Regions from separate parts of the Homo sapiens genome. Here region 2 is linked to region 1. The links are contacts of gene promoters, found by promoter capture Hi-C in human tissues and cell types (Jung and others, 2019). All regions are on one chromosome and are shown on one strand. The core of a region is centred on a gene start or on the middle of the fragment in contact, and the rest is flanking DNA. Distances in the headings are between cores, read along the strand shown. Region 1 holds the start of MBOAT4 (membrane bound ghrelin O-acyltransferase MBOAT4). Region 2 has its middle 58 kb from the start of MIR3148.

Evidence for each region. Contacts are between HindIII fragments. The study calls those that stand out against the background at their distance.
Region 2: a contact is called between a fragment that was not itself captured here and the fragment with the promoter of MBOAT4 in region 1, in 1 of the 25 tissues and cell types used here (spleen).

The regions. Positions count from the first base shown.
Region 1 is chr8:30,142,455-30,146,669 of GRCh38, forward strand. It overlaps MBOAT4 (membrane bound ghrelin O-acyltransferase MBOAT4), which reads right to left and starts at 2,211. Exons shown (of 3, transcript NM_001100916.2): 1 at 2,029-2,211. The coding sequence starts at 2,147. The HindIII fragment of the contact is 8,892 bases long and covers 1-4,215 here.
Region 2 is chr8:30,013,421-30,017,635 of GRCh38, forward strand. No RefSeq gene overlaps it. Among named protein-coding and RNA genes, the nearest start is that of MIR3148, 58 kb to the left of the region's middle. The HindIII fragment of the contact is 9,883 bases long and covers 1-4,215 here.

The DNA.
Region 1 (4,215 bases), core at 961-3,460:
AAGGGATCCTCCTGCCTCAGGCTCCTAAGTAGCCGGGACTACAGGCATGTACCACCACACTTGGCTAATTTTTTGTACTTTTTGTAGAGACAGGGATTTTGTCATGTTGCCCGGGCAGGTCTCAAACTCCTGGGCTCAAGCTATCCACTTGCCTCTGCCTCCCAGTTACTGGGATTACAGGTGTGAGCCACTGCATCCAGCCAGAAACTGAGCAATCTTCACCCTAAGGTAACTCCATGAGGATTAATCCTTATTTTTGCACTCATGTTGCTTTATTGTTTTGAGAATCTTTCTCAAAAGGAAACTTCTTTACAGCTGTCCCCCAACTCCAATCTCCATTAGTGAAGTTAAGGGCCATGAGACAGTTGTGAACACTTGATCATACCATTGTTTAATCAAATTCCACAATCCTAACTGATCGTTAGATACAGCTATATTTTATTTAAGAATCCCAATATATAAAAATCCTAATTCCCAAAATAAGTGAATTATTAGGAAGTGGCCCTTTGGCAACAGATTTTCACTTTACAAAAGGACATTCCACAAAACCTTGTTAAAAATAGGGACTGTCAGGGAAAAAGGGTTGAAAAACTAACTCTTGGGTACTGTGCTCACTACCTGGGTGATGGGATCAATCATACCCCAACCCTCAGCATCATACAATATACCCACGTAACAAACCTACACATGTACCCCTTGAATCTAAAATAAAAATTGGAATTATTTTTAAAAATGTATTTCAAATTAGCTGGGCATGGTGGTGTGCACCTATAGTCCCAGGTACTGGGGAGGCTGAGGCAGGAGAATCCCTTGAATCCAGGAGGTGGAGGTTGCAGTGAGCCGAGATCGTGCCACTGCACTCCAGCCTGGGCGACAGAGCGAGACTCCGTCTCAAAAAAAAAAAAAAAAAAAATATATATATATATATATATATATATATATATATAAAAATAAATAAAATAAAAAATGTATTTGCGACTTTTCAATTTAACAGAAAATCATGTAGCCATGTTAACAGTACACTCACCATTTCTGTTCTATGTTCAGTTAAGTTCTTGCCTTTTGACTATGTTAAAAACATAAAATCTTATATGAGCAATCTAAAAAAATAGGTGCTGTCTCTAATGTGTTGAGGTTATTTGATATTTAAAAAATCATTACAATCAAGTCATCACATCTCTAGTGATAATTTTTGAACTTCAAATTATCATATAGCTAATCTAACAAGATTCATTTTGACTTATTTCATTTCTCTGAGAATTCATATAAAGGCACTTTAAAAATCACATTTAGTTATAATAAAACTTATACTGATGTAACTTTATATAAAATTTAATTTGATTGAAAATGATAAAATTCCATAAAATTAGGACTATTCAAGAATATCTGAGATCCATGGTTGACAGAGATGTATCCATTTGGAGAATTCCTGTACCATCGCAACAACCATCTCTCCTGAGAGTTTATTTTCACTCATCTGCCATTTAACCTGAACCCAGCAAACCTTACATCAGTGCAGGAAGGATGTGAATTTCCAGTTTAGTTTTACTCTGTTATATATATTCATTATCAAATATCAATAATCAGTGACAGTGAGAGTAAGTTAAAAACAAGTGTAATTAATATATTGTAATCTTCACATCTGCAGTCTACTCTGCTTTTTGCCCTACTATAGTATTTCTGAATTTTTTTTTTTTTTAGATAGAGGCTTGCTCCGTTGCCCAGGCTGGAGTGCAATGGCGCCATCTCGGCTCACTGCAACCTCCACCTCCTGGGCTTAAGCAGGTCTCCTGCCTCCCTCCCGAGGAGCTGGAACTACAGGCATGAGCCACCATGCCCAGCTAATTTTTTTTGTATTTGCATTAGAGACAGGGTTTCGCTATGTTGGCCAGGCAGTTCTCAAACCCCTGGCCTCAAGTGATCTGCCCGCCTCAGCCTCCCAAATTGCAGGGATTACGGGCGTGAGCCACCGCACCCAGTCACTATAGTATTTCTGGATGTAAGAGTAAAAATAGCCATCCAGCCTACCTGGCACGAGTGGAGAATGAATCCATGATGCAGAGATAATTGAAGAGAAGTGCAAAGGGAAATGCAGCCCCCTGGTAAAACGATATAGGATGGAGAAAGAACAGCCAAAGCCACTCCATTAGGAACCAGAACAAAAGAGCCTGTCTTTTCCAGTGTCCTTAACTGATGCCTTCCTCCAAGAGTAATCTCAACCAGGCTGTCTCTGGTCTTTTTATCTGGTTTAGCGGGGCTAGGGTGAGCAAAAGGCAAACAAAAGCTCTGGAGATAAGCAGAATAAAAACTGGCTTTCTGATTGAGGAACTGCACTATGGAAACCAAAACACATTTTGGTGTAACATTAATCATGACATGCACTAAAAACATTGCTTTTGGAAGCGTGGTTTTGTTTCATTGACATAGTATACTATTTACCTTTCCAGTCATCATGCTGTCGTATTTTCTTCACTAAGTTAATGAAAAATCTCATTTCCCAACTGTGGACAGACAACTCTGTGGACTGAAAAGGGGAAACAAGAATGTGACCAGGAGGAAGGGAAGCAGGTTCTTTTCTTTTTCTTTTTTTGAGATAGGGTCTGGCTCTGTCACCCAGGCTGGAGTGCAGTGGCACAACCTTGGCTCACTGCAACCTCTATCTCCCCAGCTCAAGTGATCCTCCCACCTCAGCCTCCTGAGAAGCTGGGGCTATAGGCATGTGCCACCATGCCCAGCTAATTTTTATATTTTTTTTATAGAGATGGGGTTTTGCCATGTTGGCCAGGCTGATCTCAAACTCCTGGTGTCAAGCGATCCTCCTGCCTCAGCCTCCCAAAGTGCTGAGATTATAGGCATAAGGAACTGCACCCAGCTGGAGGCAGGTTCTTAAGGCAAAAACCAAGATTCCCCTTCCTCACCACAACTCTCCTCCTTATGCTACTTTTTTTCGTATCAGTACCTCTTATGTATCTATTTCTCAATTCATTTTCCTGCCCCCTTTACAACATGAGCTCTACAAGGGAAAGACTTTGTTTTGTTGATTACTGTATCCGTAGCACATAGAACACTGCTGAATACATACTATATACCCAGTAAATATTTGTTTAAAAGATTTTGAGGAGGCTGGCTGTGGTGGCTCATGCCTGTAATCCTAGCACTTTGGGAAGGCGAGGTGGGTGGATCATCTGAGGTCAGCAGTTCAAGACTAGCCTGGCCAACATGTGAAACCCTGTCTCTATGAAAAATGCAAAAATTTAGCTGGGCATGGTGGTGGACACCTGTAATCCCAGCTACTCAGGAGGCTGAGGCAGGACAATCACTTGAACCCAGGGGGCAGAGGTTGCAGTGCGCTGAGATTATGCCGCTGCACTCCAGCCTGGGCAACAAGAGTGAAACTCCGTCTTGGAAAAAAAAAAAAAAGGTTTTGAGGATATCAAAGTGTAGAGGGGAAACATTTCAAGAGAATCTTTTCTTGACAAGTAATACAGAAGAGACTTCCTAGAGGCAAGACATCTCTTGGCTAGTAGCGATCCATCTCCTGAGCCCAGGGCATTCCAGGGCTGTCCCTGATCAGTTGTTTTCCCTCTCCAAAGTCACTTGCATGAGCAAGTTGTCAATAAAGGACAGGAAAATCTGACATGAGCATCTTCAGGGCAAGGACCATCTTTTAGTGAGAGACTGTATTCGTCCGTTTTCACACTGCTATAAAGAACTACCCGAGACCGGTAATTTATAAAGGACAGAGGTTTAATTGACTCACAGTTCTGCATGGCTGGAGAGGCCTCTGGAAACTTACAGTCATGGTGGAAGGCAAAGGAGAAGCAAGTACCTTCTTTACAAGGTGACAGGAAAGAGAAGTAAGAGCGCAGGAAGAAAACACCATTTATAAAACCACCAGATCTCATGAGAACTATCATGTGAGAATGATCACGAGAACAGCATGGGGAAACCGTTCCCATAATCCAGTCACTTCCCTTCCTCAATACATGGGGATTATAACTGGGGATGAGATTTGGGTGGGGACATAGACCCAAACATATCAGAGACTGCTCTGCACAGAGAAGAAAATCCAAAAGAATCTTATTGATTGGGGAACTTTGAGCAAGTCACATCACCTCTCTGGGACTAAGCTTCACCTTAAAACTAGACATAATTAGGCCTATCTCAACAGAACTGTTATGAAAATCAGATAAAGCATGTAAAAGCATGGCATAT
Region 2 (4,215 bases), core at 1,216-3,715, 130 kb before region 1:
TGTGCACCACCACAGCCAGCTAAATTATTTTATTTTTTGTAGAGACAGGTCTCACTGTGTTGCCCAGGCTGGTCTCAAACTCCTAGCCTTAAGCGATCCTCCCACCTCAGCTTCCCAAGTGCTGGGATTACAGGCATGAGTCACCACAGCCAGCAAAATGTTAAGATTTATATCACTGGAAATTTCTGTGTATGAAGTCAAGTGCCTGACCTTAAGGCACCTACTTTCTAATAGGAAAAACAAGGCAGGCAACTATCAAAAATATATGTGTAACATGCCACTCTGTGACACTGGGGATACAAGAAATGCCTCCTTAATTTTTTTAGTCAGATTGAATCTAATGAGACCCTACTTTCCAAAGGTGATGAAAAGTTTCATGTCTGTCATTTGGGGGAGTTATTTCTCCTTTCCATAAGCATAAGAACCCATAGGCTTTACATGATCCAAAAAAACAAAGGAGGAGGACCTGCTCATTGCCCCCAAGATGATGTGCACTGCTTGCTCCTAGTCCAGGGTGTGTGCTGCATGTGTTCCATGGCAGGCAGTTGTATTCCCTCCACGCCAAGTTCAGCCACAAAGGAATGTCCCTTAATAACCAAGACTCAGACAGCCCAGCAGTCATTGCCTTTGGATGTCTTTCCATCCCTGAGATGTTGGATTCAAGGGAGGTCAGCTCTGCACTGTTTACGAAACACACACTCCTCCTAGTCCTGGGCGATATAGCCACTAACTCCCCGGCCCTTGCAGCCCTCGGCTTAGATAACACCTCCTGGCATTCTATGTCTCACAGCCCTGTCGTATTTTCTTCACAATACTGATCACTAGCTGAAGCAATCTGATTTGTGGACTATGTGTTGGTTTACTGTGTTCTTCAGAAGAACACAAATTCTGTGAGAGCTGGATCCTTTCCAATCCTATTTGCTGATATATATCCAATGCCTAGAAAAGTGCCTGGCACAAGCTAGGGACAAGTATCTGTTGAATGAGTAACTTAATATGCCAAGACTGAAACCTCCTCCTTTTCTTATACTATCAAACATTATTTTGCCAACAAACCCCATGCTGAATGGCCCTAGATCTTCAAAAGCAGCATATCTCAGAGATGGAAAATGGAAAAGCGTCCTTGGTTCTTTCTAGCTGAGTCTACAAGAAGAAAACTCAGGTTAATGTTTCAATTACCCATTATACACACATATATATACAAATATCTCTATGATGTCAATATTATTTTGCAGGAATACAGTTGATAAGGGACTGAGCTGGACAAGATCACAAAGCTGATCTGAATTCAATAATTTTCAGACTGATCATTCAGACTTGGCTTAAGGTTGCTTTCACTTTTGTTTGCTACCCAACTAGCAAATGAGCAATGAAAATAATATACACAGGCTTGGCATGGTGACTCATGCCTGTGATCCCAGCACTTTGGGAGGCTGAGGCAGGAGGATTGCTTGAGGCCAGGAGTTCAAGACCAGGCTGGCCAACATGGCGAAACCCCATCTCTACTAAAATTACAAAAATTAGCCAGGCATGGTGGCTCACACTTGTAATCCCAGCTACTCAGGAGGCTAAGGGAGGAAAATTTCCCCAACCCAGGAGGTGGAGGTTGCAATGAGCCGAGATCATGCCACTGCACTCCAGCCTGGGTGAGAGTGAGACTGTTTCAAAAAAGAAAAAGAAAATAATATACACAGCAGGGTGTGGCAGCTCATGTCTGTAAGCCTGTAATCCCAGTGCTTTGGGGAGGCCAAGGCAGGAGGATCACTTGAGGCCAGTGTTGGGAACAGGCCCCCAAATCTGGCCATAAACTGGCCCCAAAACTGGCCATAAACAAAATCTCTGCAGCACTGTGACATGTTCATGATAGCCATGACACCCTTACTGAAGGTTGTGGGTTTACTGGGTTGTGTGTTCCTTACCTTACCAGGCAAGGAACACCTGGCCCACCCAGGGAGGAAAACTGCTTAAAGGCGTTCCTAAGCCACAAACAATAGCATGAGCAATCTGTGCCTTAAGGACATGTTCCTGCTGCAGATAACTAGCCAGAGCCCATCCCTTTGTTTCGGCCCATCCCTTTGTTTCCCATAAGGAATACTTTTAGTTAATCTGTAATCTATAGCAATAATGCTTATCACTGGCTTGCTGTCAATAAATATGTGGGTCAAACTCTGTTCAGGGCTCTCAGCTCTGAAGGCTGTGAGTCCCCTGATTTCCCACTCCACACTCTATATTTCTGTGTGTGTATCTTTAATTCCTCTAGTGCCACTGGGTTAGGGTCTCCACAACCTAGCTGGTCTCGACAGGCCAGGCGTTTGAGATCAGCCTGGGCAATACAGCAAGACCCCCCAGCTCTTAAAAAAAAACAAAAAGAAAAATATGGATGAGTAGACTCATCCCAGTTGCCTTCCTAAAATTCTTTACAGCCCCCAAAAATTTAATGGCTTCAGCAGGTCAAATAGAGTAAGGAACCTACCAAGACAAAAGAGCCCAGAATCTCAGTTCATTGACTTTCACAGGAATTTCCTGTCCCATTTTTAACTGCACCAATGGGCCCGCATTGGAGTGTGACCCCTGGCCACAGTCCACAATAGGGGTTGTGGTACAGACTAGCTTTGTGTCATCAAAAATGAATTAAAATAAATGGTTGATCTATGGTTGAAATGAGGAGAGTAATGTGCTATGGAAGACAGGAGGAAGAAAATGCTTTCAAACATATGAAGTGTTTTGTTTAAAAACTTGGAGAAGAGTAGAAGTTGAGTGTGCAGAGGGGAGGAATCCACAAAAGCAAGCCGGGCTCCAAAGGAAGCTGTGGGCGTGGGTTTACACTGAGAGACTGGAGCCATCTGGTGGAGAATGCTGAAAGCAACAAAGAATAATGAGAATCAGTGCAGTCTGCTAGAGAAATGAGATCCCAGAAGTGGGGACTGGAAGATACTCTTTACTTTTACATATGATGAAGTTGAGATTCAACAAATTTAAGTGACTTGCCGAAGCTGAAAGGGTGAAATAATGTCATTATTAAATGGGTTACCCTCAGATATGGTTTCAATCTAGTATGAACTGAAAAGTGGCTGATTTTGAAGAGCCTCAGTGATCAGGGAACTTGTACTCCACTCTGAAACTTTCAACACTTGCCCTTCCCTGTACTAGTCTGTTCTCACACTGCTAATAAAGACATACCTGAAACTGGGTAATTTATAAGGGAAAGAGATTTAAGGGACTCACAGTTCCACATGGCAGGAGAGGCCTCACAATTATGGCAGCTAGCAAGGGAGGAGCAGTCACATCTTACACAGCAGCAGGCAAGAGAGCTTGTGCGGGGAACTCCCCTTTATAAAACCAACAGATCTCGTGAGATTTATTCACTACCACAAGAACAGTATGGGGGAAACCACCCCCATGATTCAGTTATCTCCACCAGGCCCCAGCCTTGACATGTGGGGATTATTACAATTCTAGATGAGATTTGGGTGGGGACACAGCCAAACCATATCACTCCCTGAGCCCAGGAATCTATAAATTGTCAATCATGATCTCTAAGTCAGTCTTGATTCTCTCTCTGGTCAATATCCAAATGCACACAGTTGGATTCCCAGCTATATGTCACAACCTGCTGCCCAGCCTGAAGGCCTCCCTACAGGGAGGGAAACATAGGTGACAACTCCCCTCCTAGAGTTGGGATTGCATTCTTGACACCACACCTTTATCACTGGTGGCAATAATGGGATTTCAAATAAACTACTCTTTGGTCAAAGATTAGATGAGACTGTCCTGCCTCAACTGCATAGAAACTGCATAGAAATACCTTGTTCTCATGGGCCTGAAACTTGCAGAATGGATTTGCTGTAGATATGCTTTTGTACACATGTGAGCTTAGGCTTGTTCTATGGGCTATTACACAGACAGAAGTAAACACCATTACTTATTTCAGTAGAGATATTGTCCCTGAGGCCCAATCTCAAAGATAGATACAATTGACCAAAACAAAAACAGACAAAAATAAATAAAATGACCCCGGATTTCTTAGCTGCAGCCCATGAAAGCCACACAGACTTAACAGAGTAGGAACTTGGTCAAGGATATTAGACAATTCACATAATTGCTGAGAGAGTTAGAAAGCCAGTTGCTGGAACCATATGGGTAGAAACAACACCCAGCTATGTTGTGGGGGCTTGTAAGGAACTATCTTAGCCCCCACTGCTCACTCTCTATGCC